Linked DNA regions of Homo sapiens: region 2 is linked to region 1. The links are contacts of gene promoters, found by promoter capture Hi-C in blood cells and fetal thymus (Javierre and others, 2016). All regions are on one chromosome and are shown on one strand. Each heading gives the region's core, a stretch centred on a gene start or on the middle of the fragment in contact. The rest is flanking DNA. Distances are from core to core; before and after follow the strand shown.

Region 1 (7,305 bases), core at 1,839-4,338:
ACTGTGCACTGCTGAAGGGCATCGTGAGCAAAGTAGGTTTTCCGCTTATTAAAATACTGTTGAGAGAGGGAGAGAAGCAAATCAGTAGTTCCCATCTGTGACCTGGTAATGTAATATGTAATATGAAAAAGTAACGTATGGAAAACAAGCCAGGACTTAGGAAAAGATAAGATACTAAGGAGGCTTCTAGTACAAAAATTAGAGCCTGAGTGATATAGTGAGACAATCCAGTGAGATGGATTCTCGCTCTGTTGCCCAGGCTGGAGTGCAATGGCACGATCTCAGCTCACTGCAACCTCCGCCTCCCAGATTCATGAGATTCTCCTGCCTCAGCCTCCCAAGTAGCTGGAATTACAGGTGCCTGCCACCATGCCCGGCTAATTTTTTGTATGTTTTTTTAGTAGAGATGGGGTTTCACCATGTTGGCCAGGCTGGTCCTGAACTCCTGACGTCAGGTGATCCACCTGCCTCGGCCTCCCAAAGTGCTGGGATTACAGGCATGAGCCACCGCGCCCAGCCTAGAATCACCTATTCTTTATAACAACCCTGTTGCAGCAGGTACATATGAGAAAAGTTCAGGGAGGTTAAGCCATGTGTGTAGCTGGTAAACAAGAGTCAGTATTCAAACTAAGGTCTCCCAAAGGTCAAGGATCATGCAGTCACTCTTCAGCTTGCTCCTGTGTTTCTAATCCTTGATAATGACCAGCATTGGTACCCACCTGTGTGCTGAACTTTGGATGTGAAACCATCCTTGGCACCTATCCGTCCCCTGGGCACAGCAAACAAATCAATGACTCTGTCCTTCCTGAAATATTTTTTCCACTCCATCCCCACTACATCAACTTTAGTTCAGGTCCTTATTTCCATCCTAGACTTTTGCAGCAGCCTCTTTGCCCATTCCCTTACCTCCAGTCTTCATCCCTACCCGTGTTTCCAAGCCTGTCTTTGGGTTCAAGCAGGGATCCCCAACCCCCAGGGCAGCAGACTGATACCATTCAGTGGCCTGTTAGGAACAGGGCCGCACAGCAGGAGGTGAGTGGCGTTGAGCCAGCATGAGTATTACCGCCTGCGCTCCACCTCCTGTCAGATCAGCAGCGGCATTAGATTCCTATAGGAGCACAAACCCTATTGTGAATTGTGCATGGTAGGCAGAGTTTTGCTCTTGTCCAGGATGGAGTGCAATGGTACAATTGTGGCTCATTGCAACCTCCGCCTCCCGGCTTCAAGAGATTCTCCTGCCTCAGCCTCCAGAGTAGCTAGGATTACAGGTGCGCACCACTATGCCCAGCTAATTTTTGTATTTTTAGTAGAGACGGGGTTTCACCACGTTGGCCAGACTGGTCTCGAACTCCTGATCTCAGGTGATCCAACCGCATCGGCCTCCCAAAGTGCTGGGATTACAGGTGTGAGCCACCTCATCCGGCCAGTACTTTGCATACAGAATGACTACAGCAGTTAGAGTGGATTGACATTAACTGTTTTCTTGGAATGTGTAAACCGTGTTATACCTACAGACCAGCAAAATGCCTGGCTCAAAGCAGATGAGAGACAAGACATCTTTACTGAGAGATAAATGTTTTTTTGCTTAGGACCCAGGACATGGTGGTGATTTACCAAAGCCACCCGGAAACAAGAATGTTTCTCACCTTTAATAAATAGGGATCCAGAACAAGCCTGGTCACTCTCACTTTAGCAGTCTTTTGCATTTTTGTCCCAATCACCTTCCCCACAATCCATCTGGCATGGACGGATGAGCGAACTACGGACATTACGTGGCTTTGGTCACCTGAAAAGCAAATTCCAAAGTCTCATATTCTGGTGGTTATGATGCCACATGAATTTTGTCACAAGAACTGTCCAGGTTAGTCCAGAAACAGTTTTTTTCTTTTTCGTTCCCCCCTCCACCCAGAAACAGTTTTGTTTTGTTTTTTTTTAGATGTAGTCTCTCTCTGTCGCCCAGGCTGGAGTGCGGTGGTGCGATCTTGGCTCACTGCAAACGCCGCCTCCTGGGTTCACGCCATTCTCCTGCCTCAGCCTCCCGAGCAGCTGGGACTACAGGCGCCCGCCACAACGCCCGGCTAATTTTTTTGTATTTTTAGTAGAGATGGAGTTTCACCGTGTTAGCCAGGATGGTCTTGATCTCCTGACCTCGTGATCCGCCCGCCTCGGCCTCCCAGAGTGCTAGGATTACAGGCGTGAGCCACCGCGCCCGGCCATATGTATTTTTCTTTAGATGAAGTTTAGTTCTTTCGCCCAGTCTGGAGTGAAGTGGCGCGATCTCGGCTCACTGCAACCTCCGCCTCCCGGGTTCAAGCGATTCTTCTCCCTCAGCCTCCCGAGTAGCCGGGACTACAGGCCCGCACCACCACGCCGAGCTAATTTTTGTATTTTTAGTAAAGACAGAGTTTCACCATGTTGGCCAGACTGGTCTCGAACTCCTGACCTCAGGTGATCCGCCCGCCTCAAGCCTCCCAAAGTGCTGGGATTAAGAGGCGTGAGCCACCGCGCCCGGCTTGAATCACCATTTCAGAGATGCTTACACGTTCCCCACTACCCAACCTCTCATCTTTACAGCGCTTACAAAGCGGTAACTTTAACTTCGCCAAGCCTCACGTTCCCCTTCTGCAAAATGGGCAGGCCTATTTCGCAGGAGTGCTTTGAGAATTTGACCCACAGAACGCTCAATACCACGGACAAACGCTGGACGTTACTGGTCCCTTATCTCTCTCCACCCCGCTGGGTCGCCTCTCCCCACAGGCTCAGTGCCCAGGTAGCACTCGGCGGGGCCGCCGCGGTGTCCCCCTCCCCGGCCCAGCGACGGATGACTTGGGCTGCTTTTGAGATCAGTTCACAAGCCATTCCACCAGGCTTCGGAAAGGTTGGGGTGATTCGTGCCCTCGCCCCAGACAACCCCGAGGTCAGACGAAGCGATTCGCTCTCAGGGCTCTCACGCGAGGGTGCCTTGGGTCCCCAGCAAATCCTCCCCCGGCAGCAATACCCCGGAGCCTGCCCTCACCTCCACCACGAGACTCACCTCCGCCAAGACTATGCAGCCACCTGCCCCGGGGAGCGCCGGTCGCAGCGGGATGGCGTCACGCCGTACGCATTGGCTCAGTCCCACACTACCCCTCTCGTAGGCCGTGCATCTCCTTAGCCGTGGGCGGAGTTAAAGGCAGGACCCCGCCCACTCTCCCTTAAAGGGACCCGCGGCGGTGGCGGGGTCGGGGGCGCTGACCTCTGGTTTCCTAACGCGCGCAGCTAGTGGACAGTGGCGCAGGAGGTTTCGGACTTTTCTTTCATTCTTTTGTTTTGTTTCTTTTTTTTTTTTTTTTTTTTGAGACGGAGTCTCGCTCTGTCGCCCAGGCTGGTGTGCAGTGGCGCGATCTCTGCTCACTGCAACCTCTGCCTCCCGGGTTCAAGCGATTCTTCTGCCTCAACCTCCCAAGTAGCTGGGATTACAGGCGTGCACCACCATGCCCAGCTAATTTTTGTATTTTTAGTAGAGACAGGGTTTCACATGTTGGCCAGGCTGGTCTCGAACTCCTGGCCTTAAGTGATCCAACCACTTTGGCCTTTCAAAGTGTTGGAATTACAGGCGTGAGCCACCGTGCCTGGCCTAAAAGTGTTTTTTTTTTTTTTTTTTTTGAGACAGGGTCTCACTCTTGTTGCCCAGGCTGGAGTGCAGTGGCATGATCTTGACTCACTGCAACCTCTGCCTCCTGGGTTTAAGGGATTCTCCTGCCTCAGCCTCCTGAGTAGCTGGGACTACAGGCATCTGGCACCACGTCCAGCTAATTTTTTTTATTTTTAGTAGAGACGGGATTTCACCATGTTGGCCAGGCTGTTCTTGAACTCTTGGCCTCAAGTGATCCACCTATTTCGGACTCCCAAAGTTCTGGGATTACAGGCATGAGCCACTGTGCCTGGCTGGTCCAGATTTACCTATACTTTCCCTGACCAGTTATTGTATCAGAAGTTTTTCAAACGAAAAATATCAGTGGGGAGTGGTACTTAGCAACAAAGCTCTGAGTGCTAGGTGAGCAACTTGCTACTGGGATTTTCCTGCCTGTAGGCTATTTCAGCAGATGTAGCTATCGATACATTGAAACATACACACACGCACACACACACCTACCTTTAAACAGCAGTGGGTTTCTTTCTTTTTTGGGACGGAGGCTGTCTCTGTCGCCCAGGCTGGAGTGCACTGGCGCGATCTCGGCTCACTGCAAGCTCCGCCTCCCGGGTTCACGCCATTCTCCTGCCTCAGCCTTCCGAGTAGCTGGGACTACAGGCGCCTGCCACCAGGCCGGCTAATTTTTTGTATTTTTTTTAGTGGAGACGGGGTTTCACCGTGTAAGCCAGGATGGTCTCGATCTCCTGACCTCGTGATCCGCCCGTCTCGGCTTCCCAAAGTGCTGGGATTACAGGCATGAGCCACCAGTGGGTTTCTTCTTTTGCTTCACCAGTTCCGTATTTTTATCTCCTTTCTTCCACAGTTAGAACTCTGGTCCCTACCCCGACAACATCAATGATTAATGCTAAATCCTATAGTATACACTATATGCTTTTGGAGTTGTACTAACAATATCCCGACTAAAAACAAACTTTCTAAGTGATGCGTGAGATTATTTTTTGTGGTTCTTTTTGTCCTTAGAGTGTACAATGACAGCACTGTGTTCAACATTTCTTGGGATTCTTTTTTTTTCTTCTGTGTGGTTGTAACAATATTCTATACAATTAGATTTTTTTTTTTTTTTCAGACGGAGTCTCGCTCACAATCTCGGCTCACTGCAAGCTCTGCCTCCTGGGTTTACGCCATTCTCCTGCCTCAGCATCCCGGGTGGCTGGGACTACAGGCACCCGCCACCACGCCCGGCTAATTTTTCTTGTATTTTTAGTAGAGATGGAGTTTCACCGCGTTAGCCAGGATGGTCTCCATCTTGTGACCTAATGATCCGCCCGCCTCGGCCTCCCAAAGTGTTGGGATTACAGGCGTGAGCCACCGTGCCTGGCCTTCATTTTTATATGTTTGTATACAATTTTGTATTCGAGGATAGGAAAAACCATATCCTTTTAATCTTATTTTTTGAATGTGTAAATCATTAAAATGGTTCAAAAATTAAAACTTTAAGGCTGGGCGCAGTGGCTCACGCCTATAATCCCAGCCCTTTGGGAGGCCGAGGCATGCGGATCACCTGAGGCCAGGAGTTCGAGATCAGCCTGTGGCAACATGGTGAAACTCCATCCCTACTAAAAATACAAAAATTAGCTGGGCATAGTGACACACGCCTGTAATCCCACCTACTCAGGAGGCTAAGGCAGGAGAATCGCTTGAACCTGGAAGGTGGAGGTTGCAGTGAGCGGAGATGGTGCCAGTGCACTCCAGCCTGGGTGAGGGAGTGAGACTCTGTCTCAAAAAAAAAAAAAAAAAAAAAAAAAAAAAGGGACGGGAAGGGAGGGGGGAAGGGAAGGGGAGGGGAGGGGAGGGGAGAAGGAAGGACTAAAACTTTAAAAAGATACAAGCAGAGAAATTTCATTCCATTCCCAATCTTTTTGATCTTGTTCTTGTTTCCCATAGGTAACTAATTTATTAGTTTCTGGTTTGGCCTGCTTATATTTCTTTTTGCAAAGATTGTATATATTCTCTTACAAAAGTAACATTCTATGTAGACTGCTTTGTATTTGCCCTTTTCACTTAACATATCCTGGAAGAATCGCTCCAAATCAGCTTCTGGAGTGTACTGAACATGCTGATCTTTCTTTTCAGTTGCACAGAACTTTACTATGTGAATGTACAATAGTCTTTTTTTTTTTTTTTTGAGACAGAGTCTCACTCTGTCACTGAGGCTGGAGTGCAGTGGGGTGATCTTCGCTCACTGCAACCTCTGCATCCTGGGTTCAGGTGATTCTCCTCCCTCAGCCTCCCGAGTAGCTGGGATCACAGGCACTCGTCACCATACCCGGCTAATTTTTGTATTGTTAGTAGAGACAGGGTTTCATCTTGTTGGCCAGGCTGCTCTTGAACTCCCGACCTCAAATGATCCACCTGCCCTGACCTCCCAAAGTGCTGGGATTACAGGCGTGAGCCACTGCACCCAGCCTTATTCATTATTGACCTAAAAATATATATTTTTTTCTTACTAGGTACGAGCATATGTACACACACACATATATATGTATGTGTATATAGATTTGTTCCTGTTTAATCAAGAAATAATAAACATTGGGGTGCTAGGCAAGCCAAGTAATCTTGGAAAAAGTTACTTCAACAAAGTAGAAAGATGGTCTAACAGTTAAAATAGTTACTTCAACAAAGTAGAAAGACGGTCTAACAGTTAATTGGCTCTAATGATTACATACAATAATAACCAAGGAGAAGCAGGATTCAACAGTGTGTTTCAAAATGATTAAGCAGCCAAATGTTCTACAATGAAAAGCTGACTACAAAAACTGCACTCTTCACGAAGAAGGAGCTGGATGGCCTTTTGATTATACAAATAAGGAATATAAAGGCTTTGGAATAATGCTAGCTAAAAAGATCATTATGTCCTGTCAAAAAAATGACCAGACAATGGCTAGATACTTTTGGGAAAGTTCAAGTCTCAAAAATTTAAAGTTTATACAAAAGGTCTTAAAATGTCCCACAACACTACAAGTGATATTTTGTTATAAAAGACCAAATAAGAGTTATTTCATTGATGCAAGGTCTTATGGATGACGTGACCAAGGATGAGGCATTGCTAATGCATATGCTACAATTTAGTTTGAGACAGTATTATTATTTTGGGTCTGGTAAGATTGGCAGGCGGATCACAAGGTCGGGAGTTGGAGACCAGCCTGGCCAATATGGTGAAACCTCATCTCTCTTAAAAATACAAAAAAAAAAAAAAAATAGCCGGGCGTGGTGGTGCATGCCTGTAATCCCAGCTACTAGGGAGACTGAAGCAGAAGAATTGCTTGAACCCAGGAGACGGAGATTGCAGTGAGCTGAGATCATGCCACTGCACTCCAGCCTGGACAACAGAGCAAGACTCTGTCTCAAAAAAAAAAAAAAAAAAAAAAGGTCGGGTGCAGTGTGGCTCAGGCCTGAAATCCCAGCACTTTGGGAGGCCAAGGCAGGTGGATCACCTGAGGTCGGAGTTCGAGACCAGCCTGGCCAATATGGCGAAACCCCGTCTCTACTAAAAATACACAAAAGTAGCTGGGCGTGGTAGTGGGCACCTGTAATCCCAGCTCCTTGGGAGGCTGAGGCAAGAGAATTGCTTGAACCTGGGAGGTAGAGGTTGCAGTGAGCTGAGATTGTGC
Region 2 (7,305 bases), core at 2,014-4,513, 220 kb after region 1:
GTCAGGAGTTTGAGACCAGACTGGACAACATGGTGAAACCCCATCTCTACTAAAAATACAGAAAGTAGCCAGGTGTGGTGGCAGGCGCCTGTAATCCCAGCTACTCAAGAGGCTGAGGCAGGAGAATCGCTTGGACCTGGGAGGCAGAGGTTGCAGTGAGCCAAGATCGTGCCTCTGCACTCCAGACTGGGCAACAGAGCAAGACTCCATGTCAAAAAAAAAAAAAAGTTTATTGAGTCATTGCTGTACCCATCATACAGGAAAGGCTTCTCAGTTCAAGTGGATTTCTTTCTCAAGGCAGTGGCTTAGGGGCCTTGCTTAAATAGTATTTTAACAAAGACTCATAAATCCTATAGTGACAAGAGAGCATCTTCAGGTTTCCAAAAGGTGGGAAAATGTCGGAAGGTTAATAATCTATGGGAAGAGAAAAGTCTCTGGCGCTTTTGTCTATGAGCTTATAAGCAAACCCTTCAAATCCTATCTTTAGGTGGGAAAGGCAGAGAGGAGGCAGGAAAACCTTTTGTCTTTGTAAATTGCCGTCCTGCCATCAGGCAAGCGGAGGGAAGGGTAGAGTGTCCTCTGCCCTTTAATCTTCTTCAGCTCTACAATCCCTAGTATATTACAGAAGAATATTGGTTTCTTTCAGTTTTAACCACATATTTCCACTTTTAAAGCATCCATTGATATCCTGGTACATGGTAAAACTTTCTCTTTGATAGACTGCTGCAGATATCCAATTCCAAGAAGGTCTGTGAGGACTTCATCACTGTTACACTCTCTCCCACTACTCCCTTTTGCTCACCTCTTTTTTATTATTGCTTAGAATTCTTTTTCTTTTTTGGCTTATGGCTCTGATGTGGCTGGAAGGTGCACTCTCTTAGAAGAGGAGAAGGATAGCTTGAGAGTTAGTTAAGTCTCATAAGGCCAGTATCATACATATTGTATTAGTCTATTCTCATGCTGCTATGAAGAAATACCTGAGACTGGGCAATTTATAAAAGAAAGAAGTTTAATTGGCTCACAGTTCCACAGGGCTAGGGAGGCCTCAGGAAACTTACAATCATGGGAGAAGGGGAAGCAAACACGTCCTTCTTCACATGGCAGCAGCAAGGAGAAGTGCTGAGCAATGAGGGGAAAGCCCCTTATAAAACCATCAGATCTGGTGAGAACTCACTATCACCAGAACAGCATGGAGATAACAACCCTCATGATTCAATTACCTCCCACCAGGTCCCTCCCACCACACGTCGGGATTATGGGAACTACAATTCAAGATGAGATTTGGGTGGGGACACAGCCAAAGTATATCACCAAACCATATCATATTCAGCAGCTTTGAGGGAAATGCTATACATATTTATAAGGGAATTGGGTAAACACATATGTCACACACATCCCACATTTACTTTGAGACTGAGTTTTAGCATTAAAACGAGATGGAATTTGGCTCTTTACAACAAAAAGTGAACTACAGGATACACAGACAGTTCGTGCAAATCCTCTATAAGCTGCTGAAACTGGCCAAAAGCCTGCAGTAGCTTATCAGAAAAGAATGTTTGTGAGGCCCGTCCCCTGTCCAATCAGAGTTGTAGTGGTCTGGGTTGTAAATCAGAATTGATAGCTCCTATTGTTAGGGAGTTTAGCCAAAGGAATTTAGACATTTGCCATGCCAGCCAGGCCCTGAACCCTCTGCCCGTAGGTAACTTCATTTCCTGAAGCTTTGAGTGCAACTTAGTCGATAAAGTGGTGTCTATTTTGGTCTCTCAGATCACAAACTTTCTTTTCTTTTTTTCTTTTCTGTTTTTTTTTTTTTTTTTTTTTTGAGATTACTCAGGGATTACAGGCCTAAGCCACCACACCTGGCTTCAGATCATACTTTCTTCCATGCCATTAATTTGCTTTCAGCCTTGTTTAGTCTGTTTCTTGTTGCATCTAGTTAATTTATTACATTTGTAATGTGGAGACGTATGAGTCAGTACAAAGAAGTAAGAAAGTAAGAAAAAGTAAAAAAACCAAAAAAGCAGAACAAAGAGAAAGTCCAAAATGGTGACTATCTTCTGTCTGTGTATAAAAGACTGTGAAGTAGGGCACACCTCCATAAGAGAAGTCACAGGGAGCCATATTTATGTCCTTTGACTTGCTTTTTTCTTCTTCTTTTGTGTTTATTCCTCCTCTGCAAGTAAGTCAGTGCACTCAGGAGAGAGACCATTGGATAGGAGGGGGGAACAGGTGTTGTTCCTCTGGTGATCTTGGACATCAGATTATTTTTTTGCAACCTACAAAACTATAAAGTGAAGTTTTGGCAGTTCCTCAGAAAGTTACCAGTGGAGTTTCTTTTCTTTCTTTCTTTTTTTTTTTTTAAACAAGAAGTTTATTTAAACAACAAGACGCTTGACTTGAAGGGAAAACTATCTAGGTTTCTTTTTTTGTTTTAATTTGTCCCTACTTAAAGACAGATTGCCCTACATGTAACAGCTATGTACAAAAAAGTTATAAAATTGTCCTTGGTTTTACAATGATAAGTGAAAAACATTAAAATTCTGCAATTGAACAAGGTATGCAAGGATTTTTGTGTGTTTTTTTTGTTGTTAAAACAGTGAGAGCAAAATAACTTACTGGAATATAAAGAGCTGAATGAGCATGCCACTAATGGAGAAAGGGGGTATTTTCACAGAATCAGTACTTTTTCCCCATCCCGTCTCCACTTGATGTCAATCAAAACATACCATTGGCTGTTTAGTTAAAAAAAATGCAATATGCTTGTGCACATATACCAGTTATGTACAATAAAGGAATGGGGAAGGGGGAAATGAAAGAACAGAGAAAACCATATGGTAGTAGTCAGGATGTGGTGGAACCAAATTGCAGTTTTCTAATTGAGAATGTAATCTTGGTCTTTAAGGAACAGAGTTCTGGAGTAAAGAAGCAGGTTCCCTTTTCAGTAGACACCTCCCGTCTGCTGTTGGAACACATCAATTGTATCTTCATTCTCCATTTCCAACTGTGCAGGTGTGTCTGTTTCCTTGATTGGTTGCCCGTCGAATCGGAATCTGATCTGCCTCATTGACAATCCCTGTTGCTTACAATAGGCTTTCATTAGTTTACTAAGTGGTGTATGCCTCTTAATCTTAAACTGCACCACAGAACCATCCTGCCCCGCCACCTTCAAATTAGTATGATCGTTGTTCTCCGACTTGACTCCTTGGTTGGGCTTTTCGTCGGCCATGGCGAGCGCCGGTCTCCTCAGCTGCCACTTCACAAAAGAGGTACCAGGTCCGCACCAAACGAGCACACAAGCAGCACCAGGAGCGGCAGAAGGAGGCGGCAGTGGTGGGCGAGGATAGAGCTACCAGTCGGGTTTCATATGATCCAGAAATTCCATTCCTAGATAGTGTCAGGATAGTGTCAGTTTTTTTTTTTTTTTTTTTTTTTTTTTTTTTTTTTTTTTTTTTGAGATGGAGTCTAGCTCTGTTGCTCAGGCTGGAGTGCAGTGGCGGGATCTTAGCTCACGGTAACCTCGCCTCTCAGGTTCTAGCAATTCTTCTGCCTCAGCCTCCCAAGTAGCTGAGACTGCAGGTGTGTGCCACCACAGCCGTCTAATTTTTGTATTTTTAGTAGAGAAGGGGTTTCGCCATGTTGGCCAGGCTGGTCTTTAACTCCTGATCTCAGGAGATCCACCTGCTTCAGCCTCCCAAAGTGCTGGGATTACAGGTGTGAGCCGCTGCGCCCGGCCCCATACTGTCGGTTCTCATTATATGTAGTAATTTTGTTATAAAGTCCCAGCAAATACTGAACTAGCAAACACTGAACCATTGCTTTTAGGAGAAATTCTGGGTTAGGTTTCTGCAAGGCTTTGGTCACAATATTCCCTCAACTGATCAATACATAATCTTGTTTTATGTGTGTTTCTGTTTAAAGACAGTTTATTGGCCGGCTGGCGCCTGTAATCCCAGCACTTTGGGAGGCCGAGGCGAGTGGATCACGAGGTCAGGAGATCGAAACCATCCTGGCTAACACGGTGAAACCCCGTCTCTACTAAAAATACAAAAAATTAGCTGGGTTCACCGGTTCACGTCATTCTCCTGCCTCAGCCTCCCGAGTAGCTGGGACTACAGGTGCCCGCTACCATGCCAGGCTAAATTTTTGTATTTTTAGTAGAGACGGGGTTTCACCCTGTTAGCCAGGATGGTCTCGATCTCCTGACCTCGTGATCCGCCCGCCTCAGCCTTCCAAAGTGCTGGGATTACAGGCCTGAGCCACCGCGCCCGGCCTTTGTTTTTGTTTTGAGACGGAGTCTTGCTCTGTCACCCAGGCTGGAGTGCAGTGGCGCAATCTCGGCTCACTGCAAGCTCCGCCTCCCGGGTTCACGCCATTCTCCTGCCTCAGCCTCCCGAGTAGCTGGGACTACAGGCAGCTGCTACCACGCCCGGCTAATTTTTTGTATTTTTAGTAGAGATGGGGTTTCACCGTGTTAGCCAGGATGGTTTCGATCTCCTGACCTCGTGATCCGCCCGCCTCAGCCTCCCAAAGTGCTGGGATTACAGGCGTGAGCCACCGCGCCCGGCTGACCGTTTTTTAATATGCTTTTTAAAAATAAACAGTTTCCAATATCAATAAGTATATTTTTATAACACTACTTTGATGGCTGTGTAGATGTATGATAATTAATTGAAAGTTTCATATTGGATTATTTCTCTCCATTATTGATGATACTGTAAAGCATATTCTTACAGCTGAGTCTCTGCATGTATTCTTAATTACTTCCTTGGGGTAAATTGGTAGAAATGCTATTGCTGGGTCAAGCTTATACCCATTCATAGAGCTTTTGTTACATATGGTCAAATTCTTCTACAAGTTACTCTTAACTCTTTGTGGTTTCCCCTTCTGGGGAATGATTTCCAAACCACAGGGGTGGGCTCTGGTAGTTAAGTCTGCACTACAAAGCACTGGTCTGCTCATAGCTGATTGGTGGGCAGGGCTGCAGTCCCAAGCCAGTGACGTAAAACACTGATGCTGGGAAAGACCTAGTTTCTGATAATGGAGCTGCCAGATGTTCAAGTTAAGAGATGTCAAGGGCGTTGTTTTTTGATATGTGGCAGAAGACAACCTGCATCTTAGAACAAAGCCCATATACAAACCTGCAGAAACAAGAAATGGAGACAGAGCATGTCAGCAAACAGCCATATTGGTTCTAGTGATTCTTGCACTCCTCCTAGCAGGGGAAACCTGGCCACTTCTCTGAATTGGATACAACCCCTCAATTGAGTGAAAACCTCTGGTATTCCTCAGATGATTTTTTTTTAATTCCCTATGTGAAATTTGGAGTTCTGTTACTTGGTATCAAAAAACTTGGCAGGGCGCAGTGGCTCACGCCTGTAATCCCAGCACTTTGGGAGGCCGAGGCGGGTGGATCACGAGGTCAGGAGATCGAGACCATCCTGCCTAACACGGTGAAACCCCGTCTCTACTAAACACACAAAAAAATTAGCCGGGCGTGGTGGCGGGCTCCTGTAGTCCCAGCTACTCGGGAGGCTGTGGCAGGAGAATGGCGTAAACCCGGGAGGCGGAGCTCACAGTGAGCCGAGATCACGCCACTGCACTCCAGCCAGGGTGACAGAGCGAGACTCCGTCTCAAAATAAAAAACAAACAAAAAAAACTAAACCAAAACAACAACAAAACAAAACAAAATCATGCATCTCTTTAAATGCTGTAACAATGTACTTCATTGTCTTAATTTTCTTTTCTTTTTTTGAGGAAAATTGAGACCTTCTATTTTCTGAGAAACAATCTATAGATTGGGGAGGTGCAGCCTTTGGTCCAAGTGAAAGTACACTCTCTATTTTCTTTTCTTTTTTATTTTTGAGACAGAGTCTTGCTCTGTCACCCAGGCTTGAGTGCAGTGGTGTGATCTGGACTCACTGTCGCCTCCACCTCCCAGGTTCAAGTGATTCTCCTGCCTCAGCCTCCCGAGTAGCTGGGATTACAGGTGCCTGCCACCACGCCCAGCTAATTTTTGTATTTTTAGTAGAGACGGGGTTTCATCATCTTGGCCAGGCTGGTCTTGAACTCCTGACCTCATGATCCACCCGCCTCAGCCTCCCAAAGTGCTGGGATTACAGGTGTGAGCCACCATGCCTGGCCGTAAGTATTTTTTTTTTTTTTTTTTTGAGATGGAGTCTTGCTCTGTCGCCAGGCTGGAGTGCAGTGGTGCGATCTCAACTCACTGCAAGCTCCCCCTCCCGGGTTCACGCCATTCTCCTGCCTCAGCCTCCTGAGTAGCTGGGACTACAGGTGCCCGCTACCACGCCCAGCTAATTTTTGTATTTTTAGTAGAGATGGGGTTTCACCGTGTTAGCCAGGATGGTCTCGATCTCCTGTCCTCGAGATCCGCCCGCCTTGGCCTCCCAAAGTGTTGGGATTACAGGCGTGAGCCACAGCGCCTGGCCAAGTATTTTTTTAATTTATCATTTGTCTTTAAAAAATTTGTGACATTTTTTAATAGCAAGATTTTTTTTTCTTTTTTGAGACAGAGTCGTGGTATGTTGCCCAGGCTGGACTTGAACTTCTGGGCTCAAGAGATCCTCCCACCTCAGGCTCTCAAGTAGTTAGGACTACAGGCTCCTAGATCCTGCCACCACGAGCAGACATTCGTTTTTATTTTATTTTATATATATTTTTAGACAGGCTTTCACTCTGTCACCTAGGCTGGAGTGCAGTGGTGTGATCACAATTCATTGCAGCCTCCATCTTCTAGGTTGAAGATGATCTTCCCACCTCAGCCTCCGAAGTAGCTGAACCGGGACTACAGGTGCAGGCCGCCCTGCTCTACCTTTTTTTTTTTTTTTTGAGACAAGGTCTCTCTCTGTCACCCAGGCCAATTATGCAGTGGTGCAATCATGGCTCATGCAGCCTCAACATCCAGGGCTCAAGCGATCCTCCAACATCAGCTTCCCAAATAGCTGGGACTACAGGCACACACCACCACATCTGGCTAATTTTTGTTTGGTTTTTGTTTTTCTTTTGAGACAGGGTATCACTCAGTTGCCCAGGCTGGAGTTTATTTTTTCTGTAAAGTAGTGATTATACCTATGACCTTATACAGAGTTGTCATGAAGATTGGACTTCTTGGCATCTAGTTCAAAAGATCAAGTTTCAAATCCCAAGTCTTTACCAATTAATATGTATTGTATGTTTAGCGTCTGAGCCTAGAAACTAATTCAGCACCAAGGTATTTCCCCAAATTGCCGTAAGAGGTCAGTAGGCAAGATAAGTATCATCTGTTTTACAGTCAAGGGTGGAAGTAA

Evidence for each region. The method cuts DNA at HindIII sites, captures the fragments that hold promoters and counts their contacts. A CHiCAGO score of 5 or more calls a contact.
Region 2: a fragment that was not itself captured here is called in contact with the fragment with the promoter of MRPS17 in region 1 in 1 of 17 cell types (erythroblasts); the score reaches 6.1 in erythroblasts.

The regions. Positions count from the first base shown.
Region 1 is chr7:55,947,660-55,954,964 of GRCh38, reverse strand. MRPS17 (mitochondrial ribosomal protein S17) reads right to left here and starts at 3,088. Exons shown (of 3, transcript NM_015969.3): 1 at 3,035-3,088; 2 at 1,647-1,786; 3 at 1-56. The coding sequence starts at 1,769. RefSeq lists an enhancer at 2,976-3,035. The HindIII fragment of the contact is 16,512 bases long and covers 1-7,305 here.
Region 2 is chr7:55,728,065-55,735,369 of GRCh38, reverse strand. It overlaps the pseudogene SUMO2P3. Among named protein-coding and RNA genes, the nearest start is that of SEPTIN14, 130 kb to the left of the region's middle. The HindIII fragment of the contact is 3,085 bases long and covers 1,721-4,805 here.